3 separate regions of the Homo sapiens genome follow, and regions 1 and 3 are each linked to region 2. Evidence: promoter capture Hi-C in 16 types of primary human blood cells and fetal thymus (Javierre and others, 2016). All regions are on one chromosome and are shown on one strand. Each heading gives the region's core, a stretch centred on a gene start or on the middle of the fragment in contact. The rest is flanking DNA. Distances are from core to core; before and after follow the strand shown. Region 1 holds the start of MTOR-AS1 (MTOR antisense RNA 1). Region 2 holds the start of FBXO6 (F-box protein 6). Region 3 holds the start of MASP2 (MBL associated serine protease 2).

The links. Contacts are between HindIII fragments. The CHiCAGO score rates a contact against its expected background, and 5 or more counts as called.
Region 1: a contact is called between the fragment with the promoter of MTOR-AS1 here and the fragment with the promoter of FBXO6 in region 2, in 10 of 17 cell types (naive B cells, endothelial precursors, total B cells and 7 more). The highest score is 10.2, in naive B cells.
Region 3: a contact is called between the fragment with the promoter of MASP2 here and the fragment with the promoter of FBXO6 in region 2, in 6 of 17 cell types (naive CD8 T cells, fetal thymus, non-activated CD4 T cells and 3 more). The highest score is 6.3, in naive CD8 T cells.

The regions. Positions count from the first base shown.
Region 1 is chr1:11,142,253-11,145,686 of GRCh38, reverse strand. MTOR-AS1 (MTOR antisense RNA 1) reads right to left here and starts at 1,789. Exons shown (of 4, transcript NR_046600.1): 1 at 1,700-1,789; 2 at 801-1,020; 3 at 408-534. It overlaps MTOR (mechanistic target of rapamycin kinase), which reads left to right. Exons shown (of 58, transcript NM_004958.4): 33 at 642-719; 34 at 932-1,039. The HindIII fragment of the contact is 11,786 bases long and covers 1,666-3,434 here.
Region 2 is chr1:11,662,729-11,666,366 of GRCh38, reverse strand. FBXO6 (F-box protein 6) reads right to left here and starts at 2,167. Exons shown (of 6, transcript NM_018438.6): 1 at 2,112-2,167. FBXO44 (F-box protein 44) reads right to left here. Exons shown (of 6, transcript NM_033182.7): 6 at 3,040-3,638. RefSeq lists an enhancer at 1,592-1,641 and silencers at 1,762-1,831, 1,882-2,101. The HindIII fragment of the contact is 5,022 bases long and covers 1-3,638 here.
Region 3 is chr1:11,045,870-11,049,297 of GRCh38, reverse strand. MASP2 (MBL associated serine protease 2) reads left to right here and starts at 2,059. Exons shown (of 11, transcript NM_006610.4): 1 at 2,059-2,095; 2 at 2,179-2,407; 3 at 2,565-2,742. The coding sequence starts at 2,091. RefSeq lists an enhancer at 2,722-3,428. The HindIII fragment of the contact is 27,395 bases long and covers 1-3,428 here.

The sequences.
Region 1 (3,434 bases), core at 540-3,039, 520 kb after region 2:
ACTAAAAATACAAAAATTAGCTGGGCGTGGTGGCGGGCGCCTGTAACCCCAGCATCCCAGCTACTTGGGAGGCTGAGGCAAGAGAATCGCTTGAACCAACATGGAGAAACCCTATCTCTACTAAAAATACAAAAATTAGCTGGGCGTGGTGGCGGGCGCCTGTAACCCCAGCATCCCAGCTACTTGGGAGGCTGAGGCAAGAGAATCACTTGAACCCGGGAGGTGGAGACTGCAGTGAGCCAAGATCACACCACTGCACTCCAGCCTGGGTGACAGAGTGAGACTGTGTCTCAGAAGAAAAAAAAAAGGTAGATCCCCAGTTATGTCCTCTTGAGATGCAAGAACCCATGATTCGGTTTTACAGCCCACATTCCCATGCCCTTGCCACCTAAGATTTTGTGTGTTACCTTAGATAGATGTTAAAGTTTTGGATGCCATACATTTCTGTCTTCGATGAGAAATTGGATAATACCTCCTCTCAAGCCATTCAGTTCTGGGAAAATGCCCTTCTTCAGCGAATTTCTCTTTTCATCCCTGGAATTTAAGTGAGACAGATAACTTCTGTAGCTAGTTGGGGTGCCCTAAAATAACCCTAAGCTCCCAAGTCCAGAGCTCAGTCCCAAGGGTTGTTTCTCTTCTAGTGCATTGACAAGGCCAGGGACCTGCTGGATGCTGAATTAACTGCGATGGCAGGAGAGAGTTACAGTCGGGCATATGGGGTAAGTGTCAACTATTCTGCACATTGTCATTTTTGAGGCTTATTTCCATACTTTTTTCAGAATGGGCTATTGAGAACTTACAGGCTGCTGGAAACATGCCTGTTTTCTCTGATCGGCAGATACCCTGACACCAGAAGGAATGATTTAAATTAATCCTGTCTTTTGGATTGTTCGTGCAGTAATTAGTTTGGAATGCGATTTGCTTCCATCAGGCCATGGTTTCTTGCCACATGCTGTCCGAGCTGGAGGAGGTTATCCAGTACAAACTTGTCCCCGAGCGACGAGAGATCATCCGCCAGATCTGGTGGGAGAGACTGCAGGTGAGCTTGGTAGAAAGCCCCAGTTCACCCACCTACCCCTACCCCTTCCAGGACCTGGGTGAGTGCCCCCCTCCACCCTGGCTCTTACTCAACTTGCTTTTCCTGCCTCCTCCACCAGTGTATTGCTTGGCTTGCATACAAAGCAGAATACTCAAAGGCTCCTCACCTAAACTTAAGCTGTGAGAGAATGACCAATTTTCCAGTCTCTTCTTATTCTCTTCTCTAGGAATTAAAAAAAATGTTTTTTAGTAAGTGACACCTGTGACCAGTCAGTTAGGAATCATAACCTCAAAATCAGTGGTTCTCAACCTTAGCAGCACAGTAGAATCACCTGCAGAGCTTTTTAAAATCCTGATGCCCAGGCTATTCCCCAGGCCAATTAAATTTCTGGGGAGAGACTCAGGATCAGTATCTTTTCAGGTTCCCCCAGATGATTCCACCAGCCAAAGCTAAGAACCACTGCTCTAACTACACTTGGAGGCCACCTGCACCAGCTTTTCAGATGGGGTTGCCTTAGGTTCTCATTGGCCAACTCCTGCTATTTATAGCTACTTAGGTCAGAGTCATCCTGTCGCCTCTATTGAGACTTTTTTTCCACTGCAGTTTCCGCTTGTAGAGAAGAAGCTTTCCCAAGTCCTCCATCAGTGTTTTCATTCTCACATTCTGATCATTTTAACATGAGAAACTGTCACTCCAGGTCTGGGAGTCAGGAGTCTAAATGTTCTGGGAAGGATGGCCAGTTATCCCATTCCTTGAGTGGGTAGGATAGGAAGTTCATCAGCAAAAGAAAAAAGAGAGAAAGCCTTTACCACTCCAGAAACCATTTGTCTCCCTACCTATCATAATCCATCCCCGCAATTATAAACCATTTCCTCTCAACTAGATCCCCACCTAATTGCTAATTCCAAATTCTCGCTTCAGACCAATCGAAGTTTGTGCTTCCAGGCGTCTCAGTAGGCTGCGACAAAACCTTTTGACTCCAAACACATTCCTGCCTAGGAAGCTCAGGGCACATTCCCCTGGACAGGAAAGAGCAATGGGCAAAGGAACATCTATGAATACAGTCATTTATGGCTCTGAAATGAGCACATACAGTTCTTTTACATGTTTTATTAGTAATTATGAAATGCCCAGTGAATGTTTTGATGGAAAATTGTCTCCTGGGCACCAGAAAGAATTCCACAAATAAGCATTTCCCACTTGATTTGTACACACCCCAATTCTTTGAAATGCCTATAATAAAGAGTTTCTACAGCAGAGATCTGATGAACCTTCTGACAGTCTGACAAGTGGGACTTGATCCAAATGTAGACTTAGAGGAGAGGGGAGGCATGGAATGAGTCCTGGGAAGAGAGATGCCTGTCTGACTTTACTGGGTCCAGGACACTGCCACCACCTTAAGCCTTCGTGACTTTCCTATCTTGAGGCAGCAAGATGCTTTTTGGCTTACAGGAGGCCAAATTATTTCAGCATCTGGGAGAACCTAACTATTGGTGAGAAGTCACAAAAAACAATCACTCAGTGTACTTTTTTCTGTTATTTTAACTTTCGAAATCATTGTTGTCACACTTCATGGGATGGAAAAATGTGGTCCAAGGCCTGAAAGTAAAGCATTACATTTATAGTGGAAATTTGGCTCTTGTGGATGGCTTGCTGTCAAATGAACTGCTGGGGCTAGAAAACTGCCATTTTGTGGTCAAATCATTTAAATTAAAATCCCCAACCAGTATTATAGTAGTGGAAAAATACATGTTTGTTACTTTTCTTTGGAGTTGCACCAATGCTTTTGGTTCCTAAGACCCTCCCATAGGGCAGTTAGAGAGGTCAGCCTTACTGGCGCTGGGTCTCTTCTAGCCTTGGGTTCTCCAGTCAGGCTCAGACTGCATCTTATCATAGCTAAAAGCCTGAGATCATTGTCGCTAGACTTTTAAGTTTATCTCCATGGAGGACAGCTCCATGGGTTCATGGAATTTACCATGAAGCAGTAGATCTCAGGAACTCCCCTTCTGAGTCTGACTTCTTATCAACAAGGATGAAAAAGGAGTTCACTTGGCCAGGCATGGTGGCTCACACCTGTAATCCCAGCACTTTGGGAGGCTGAGGCAGGTGGATTGCTTGAGGTCAGGAGTTTGAGACTTAGCCTGGCCAACATAGAGAAACCCCCTCTCTGCTAAAAGAAAAAAATACAAAAATTAGCCAGGCGTGGTGGCGCACACCTGTAATCCCAGCTCCTTGGGAGGCTGAGGCAGGAGAATCGCTTGGACCTGGGAGGCAGAGGTTGCAGTGAGCCAAGATTGCGCCACTGCACTCCAGCCTGAGGGACAGAATGATACTCCATCTCCAAAAAAAAAGGAGTTCTGCCTGCTTCTGCTCCCAAAGTTCTGGGATTACAGGC
Region 2 (3,638 bases), core at 918-3,417:
GCAACCTTGGCAACACAGGGAGGCCCCGTCTCTATAAATAGTGAAAAAATTCGCCGGGCATAGTGGCGAGTGCCTATGGTCCTAGCTACTTGGGAGGTTATGGCGTCAGGATCTTCTGAGCCCAGGAGGTCAAGGCTGCAGTAGCTCACAGGTGTGAGCCACCGAACCCAGCCCCTCAGATTTTTCTACCTTACAGTCCATGAGGCCTGCCGAGGTCACACTCTAGGGAAAGAAGGAGCCTGCTGGAGCAGAGTGAGCCATGATTGCTCCATGGCACTCCAGCCTGGGCAACAGAGCAAAACTGTCTCAAAAAAAAAAAAAAAAAAAAAGAGAAAAGAAAAATGCTTTGATGGAAAAAAAAAATAACAAAAAAACCCAATGTGGCCAAGTCTTCTAAGTTCTGAGAAGCAACTGTAAGCATTTGAAAAAAAATGTAAAAGTTGTCAATTAAAAATGCTTGTAGTCTAGGCAACATAGTGAGACTCTGTCTCTAGAAAAAAAGAAATTAGGTCGGGTGCACAGACTCAGGCCTGTATTCCCAGCACTTCGGTAGGCCGAGGCGGGCGGATCACAAGATCAGGAGTTCGAGACCAGCCTGGCCAATATGGCGAAACCCCGTCTCTACTAAAAATACAAAAATTAGCTGGGCGTGGTGGCGGACGCCTGTAGTCCCAGCTACTCGGGAGGGTGAGGCAGGAGAATCACCTGAACCCGGGAAGCGGAGGTTGCAGTGAGCCGAGATCGTGCCACTGCACTCCAGCCTGGGCAACAGAGTGAGAATCTGTCTCAAAAAAAAAAAAAAAAAAAAAAAAGGCCGGGCGCGGTGGCTCACGCCTGTAATCCCAGCACTTTGGGAGGCCGAGGTGGGCGGATCACGAGGTTAGGAGATCGAGACCGTCCTGGCTAACACAGTGAAACTCCATCTCTACTAAAAATACAAAAAATTAGCCGGGCTTGGTTGCAGGTGCCTGTAGTCCCAGCTACTCGAGAAGCAGGTGCCTGTAGTCCCAGCTACTCGGGAGGCTGAGGCAGGAGGACGGCCTGAACCCGGGAGGCGGAGCTTGCAGTGAGCTGAGATCGCGCCACTGCACTCCAGCCTGGGCGACAGAGCGACACTCCGTCTCAAAAAAAAAAAAAAAAAAAAAAAAAAAGAAATTAGCTAGGCCTGGTGGCCCGTGCCTGTAGTCCCAGCTATGCAGGAGGCTGAGGCAGGAGGAACGCTTGAGCCCAGGAAGTCGAGGCTGCAGTGAGCCGTGATCATGCCACTGCACTCCAGCCTGGGTGACAGAGCAAGACTCTGCCATAAATAAATAAATAAATAAATGCTGGCAGCTTCTAAAGGCACTGTCTAGACTCTAGACGAAATAAAAGTCACTGGGCTCCAAGCTAGAGGCATCTAGGCACCAATAGCTTCCCACCGTGGTGACCGAAGTCTGGTCTCTGGCCCAGTCCGCATTTTCTTGCGCCCCTTCCCCCCCCCGGCCCTGGGCATTTTGTGGTGGGGAAGTCCATGCCAGCCCTAGGAAGCCCTCTCACACCGATCGGGGTCCCCAACTGCCCGGCCCGGCGTCTCGTGCTCGCCTTCTCCGCACCCACCCTCCCAGCAAGCTCTAGTGGCATTGTTACTTCACCGGTTTCTCGGAAACAGAAACTGTGGCTGGGGCAAGGCAAGCGCCGGATCTCGCAGGCGTGTGGGGGCCTGGAGGTCCCTTGACAGTTCTCCGAACCCGGCGCCGGCCTCGGGATGTGGCCGGGGTGGAGGCGGCCGCAGAGCCTCCGCCTGGGTGGCCCCGGGGCCAGGCCCCCAGTCGAAGTCCGGGCCCAGCCGCCCGCGCCCCCCACCCCTGGCCGCCCGGACCAGCGCCCGCAGGCTCCGTGAACGCCCAGGCGCCGGAGACCCCGGCTCCCCACTCGCCCGCCGCCCGTCCCCCCGGGGACGCGACCTGGGCGCAGCGGCGGAGCTCCAGGTCGGCCCGAGCCTACGGCCTCGGCTTCGTTGTCGCTGGGCCCCGCCGCCGCGTCACGCGCTGCGCTCGGTCCCCACCCCCGCCCCGGACCCCGCTGCCGTCCCTCTCGGCCCGGCCCCTAACCCTCGCCGCGGGAAGACGAACCTGGGATCCCCAGGGCCCGGGCCCTCGCTGCGGCCTGCGTGTCCTGAAGCTGTCTCCCCCTCCAGGCGGCGGGCGGCTCAGCACCCACACCTGCACCCGCCTCCTACGCAGGGCCGAAGCTCCCGAACGCGCGGCCGCTCCCCGGACCTCCGCACTAGTTCCTTCCTTATGCGGCCCAGGGCTCCACCCTTGACCCGCGGTCCCCTCCCTAGAGGCAGGACCTGACACCCAGTGGGCTCCTTCTTTCCCTAGGGCGTGACCTCCGCAGGCTTCATAGACTCAAAGGTAAAAAACCTGAGGTGCTAGGAGGTGGCTAACGCCTGTGATCCCAGCACTTTGGGAGGCCGAGGTGGGGAGGATCGCTTGAGGTCAGGAGTTCGAGACCAGCCTGGCCAACATGGCAAAAACCCTGTCTCTACTAAATATACAAAAATTAGCCGGGCGTGGTGGCACAGGTCTATAATCCCAGCTCCTCCGGAGGCTGAGGTGGGAGAATCGCTTGAACCTGGGAGGCTGCAGTGAGTGGAGACTGTACCACTGCACTGCAGCCTGGGCGACAGAGCCAGACCTTGTCTCAAAAAATAAAAAACCTCTGAGGTTTTTTATCAGGATTAAGTTCATGAATTTCTTCCATCAGTCAACAAATATTTAGCAAGCACCTTGTTCAGGCAACCACCAAGGGTTGTGCAGGCTGTGTACTGCACAAGGGGACTGGCCCAGGACACATTAATTGCAGTCAGGGCTACATGTTCTCCGTGGAAGGCCGTCCTTTTGCAGTTTGCCATGGGCTGGTGGGTGGTGATCCTGCCCTGGCCAAAGCCCTTATCTAGCTCACCCTTGACTGAGATAGCTAAATGTGAGGAGTACTTATTGAGCACTGGATTATAGTCCATGTTCACACTGCTATAAAGAAATACCCGAGACTGGGTGATTTATAAAAGGAAAGAGGTTTAATTGACTTATAGTTCCATATGGCTGGGGAAGCCTCAAGAAACAATCGCTGGGCGCGGTGGCTCACGCCTGTAATCTCAGCACTTTGGGAGGTCGAGGTGGGTGGATCACGAGGTCAGGAGATTGAGACCACCCTGGCCAACATGGTGAAACTCCATCTCTACTAAAAATACAAACAAAATTAGCCGGGCATGGTGGTGGGCGCCTGTAGTCTCAGCTACTCCAGAGGCTGAGGCAGGTGAATGGCGCGAACCTGGGAGGCAGAGCTTGCAGTGAGCTGAGATTGCGCCACTGCACTCCAGCCTGGGCGACAGAGCGAGACTCCATCTCAAAAAAAAAAAAAAAAAAAAGAAAAGAAAAGAAAAAAGGAACTTACAATCATGGTGGTGGAAGGTGAAGGGGAAGCAACGACCTTCTTCACATGGCGGCAGGAGGGAGCCGGGGAAACCGTCACTTGTAAAACCATCAGATCTCGTGAGAACTCACTCACTATCATGAGAACAGCATGGGGGAAAACCGCTCCCATAATCCAATCACTTCCCACCAGGTCTCTCCCTAAACACCCAGGATTACCAT
Region 3 (3,428 bases), core at 810-3,309, 620 kb after region 2:
AGTAGCACAATCTTGGCTCATTGCAGCCTCCAGGTTCAAGCGATTCTCCTGCCTCAGCCTTCCAGGTAGCTGGGATTACAGGCACGCAACACCATGCCCAGCTAAGTTTTGTATTTTTAGTAGAGATGAGGTTTAACTCCAAAATAATTCTTTTTCCTGATCTTTTGCATGTGATTTACTATTTGATTTTTCTCTTTCTCTTTGTTTGTAAAACATAATTATTCTCTCCAGTGTTTTTAAATATGTGTAAAGCTGTATTAATATTTTTATCTCCTTTTCTGGGCACTTGGGGCACACTTTCGATCAGTATCACGTTCTTCAGTTCTGGGAAATTTTCTTGCATTATTATTATTGCTATGTATGTATTTTTTGAGACAAAATCTTACTCTGTCACCCAGGCTGGAGTTCAATGGCATGAACATGGCTCACTGCAACCTTGAGACCTCCTGGGCTCAAGCGATTGTCCCATCTCAGCCTGCCAAGTAGCTGGGACTAAAGGTGCATGCCACCATGCCTGGCTAATTTAAAAAAATTTTTTTTTTTTTTAGAGACAAGGTCTTGCTATGTTGCCCAAGCTGGTCTTGAACTCCCGGTCTCAGGCGACCCACCTGCCTCAGCCTCCCAGCCTCCTGGGATTATGGGCAGGAGTCACTACACCCAGCCAGAGTCCCGGTCTCTAAAAGAAAATAGGCCAGGCATGGTGGCTCACGCCTGTAATCCCAGCACTTTGGGAGGCTGAGGCGGGTGGATCACCTGTGGTTGGGAGTTCGAGACCAGCCTGACCAACATGGAGAAACTCCGTCTCTACTAAAAATACAAAACTAGCCGGACGTGGTGGCGCATGCCTGTAATCCCAGCTACTCGGGAGGCTGAGGCAGGAGAATTGCTCGAACCCCGGAGGCAGAGGTTTGGTGGCTCACACCTGTAATCCCAGCACTTTGCGAGGCTGAGGCAGGTGCATCGCTTTGGCTCAGGAGTTCAAGACCAGCCTGGGCAACACAGGGAGACCCCCATCTCTACAAAAAACAAAAACAAATATAAAGGGGATAAAAAAAAAAAAAAGACAAGACATGAATCCATGAGGACAGAGTGTGGAAGAGGAAGCAGCAGCCTCAAAGTTCTGGAAGCTGGAAGAACAGATAAACAGGTGTGAAATAACTGCCTGGAAAGCAACTTCTTTTTTTTTTTTTTTTTTTTTGAGGTGGAGTCTCACTCTGTCGTCCAGGCTGGAGTGCAGTGGTGCGATCTCGGATCACTGCAACCTCCGCCTCCCAGGCTCAAGCAATTCTCCTGCCTCAGCCTCCCGAGTAGCTGGGATTATAAGTGCGCGCTGCCACACCTGGATGATTTTTGTATTTTTAGTAGAGATGGGATTTCACCATGTTGGTCAGGCTGGTCTCAAACTCCCAACCTCGTGATCCACCCACCTTGGCCTCCCAAAGTGCTGGGATTACAGGTATAAGCCACCGAGCCCAGCCAAAAGCGACTTCTAAGCCTGCAAGGGAATCGGGAATTGGTGGCACCAGGTCCTTCTGACAGGGTTTAAGAAATTAGCCAGCCTGAGGCTGGGCACGGTGGCTCACACCTGTAATCCCAGCACTTTGGGAGGCTAAGGCAGGTGGATCACCTGAGGGCAGGAGTTCAAGACCAGCCTGACCAACATGGAGAAACCCCATCCCTACCAAAAATAAAAAATTAGCCAGGTGTGGTGGTGCTCGCCTGTAATCCCAGCTACTTGGGAGGCTGAGGTGGGAGGATTGCTTGAACACAGGAAGTAGAGGCTGCAGTGAGCTATGATTGCAGCACTGCACTGAAGCCGGGGCAACAGAACAAGATCCAAAAAAAAGGGAGGGGTGAGGGGCAGAGCCAGGATTTGTTTCCAGGCTGTTGTTACCTAGGTCCGACTCCTGGCTCCCAGAGCAGCCTGTCCTGCCTGCCTGGAACTCTGAGCAGGCTGGAGTCATGGAGTCGATTCCCAGAATCCCAGAGTCAGGGAGGCTGGGGGCAGGGGCAGGTCACTGGACAAACAGATCAAAGGTGAGACCAGCGTAGGGCTGCAGACCAGGCCAGGCCAGCTGGACGGGCACACCATGAGGTAGGTGGGCGCCCACAGCCTCCCTGCAGGGTGTGGGGTGGGAGCACAGGCCTGGGCCCTCACCGCCCCTGCCCTGCCCATAGGCTGCTGACCCTCCTGGGCCTTCTGTGTGGCTCGGTGGCCACCCCCTTGGGCCCGAAGTGGCCTGAACCTGTGTTCGGGCGCCTGGCATCCCCCGGCTTTCCAGGGGAGTATGCCAATGACCAGGAGCGGCGCTGGACCCTGACTGCACCCCCCGGCTACCGCCTGCGCCTCTACTTCACCCACTTCGACCTGGAGCTCTCCCACCTCTGCGAGTACGACTTCGTCAAGGTGCCGTCAGGACGGGAGGGCTGGGGTTTCTCAGGGTCGGGGGGTCCCCAAGGAGTAGCCAGGGTTCAGGGACACCTGGGAGCAGGGGCCAGGCTTGGCCAGGAGGGAGATCAGGCCTGGGTCTTGCCTTCACTCCCTGTGACACCTGACCCCACAGCTGAGCTCGGGGGCCAAGGTGCTGGCCACGCTGTGCGGGCAGGAGAGCACAGACACGGAGCGGGCCCCTGGCAAGGACACTTTCTACTCGCTGGGCTCCAGCCTGGACATTACCTTCCGCTCCGACTACTCCAACGAGAAGCCGTTCACGGGGTTCGAGGCCTTCTATGCAGCCGAGGGTGAGCCAAGAGGGGTCCTGCAACATCTCAGTCTGCGCAGCTGGCTGTGGGGGTAACTCTGTCTTAGGCCAGGCAGCCCTGCCTTCAGTTTCCCCACCTTTCCCAGGGCAGGGGAGAGGCCTCTGGCCTGACATCATCCACAATGCAAAGACCAAAACAGCCGTGACCTCCATTCACATGGGCTGAGTGCCAACTCTGAGCCAGGGATCTGAGGACAGCATCGCCTCAAGTGACGCAGGGACTGGCCGGGCGCAGCAGCTCACGCCTGTAATTCCAGCACTTTGGGAGGCCGAGGCTGGCTGATCATTTGAGGTCAGGAGTTCAAGGCCAGCCAGGGCAACACGGTGAAACTCTATCTCCACTAAAACTACAAAAATTAGCTGGGCGTGGTGGTGCGCACCTGGAATCCCAGCTACTAGGGAGGCTGAGGCAGGAGAATTGCTTGAACCTGCGAGGTGGAGGCTGCAGTGAACAGAGATTGCACCACTACACTCCAGCCTGGGCGACAGAGCTAGACTCCGTCTCAAAAAACAAAAAACAAAAACGACGCAGGGGCCGAGGGCCCCATTTACAGCTGACAAAGTGGGGCCCTGCCAGCGGGAGCGCTGCCAGGATGTTTGATTTCAGATCCCAGTCCCTGCAGAGACCAACTGTGTGACCTCTGGCAAGTGGCTCAATTTCTCTGC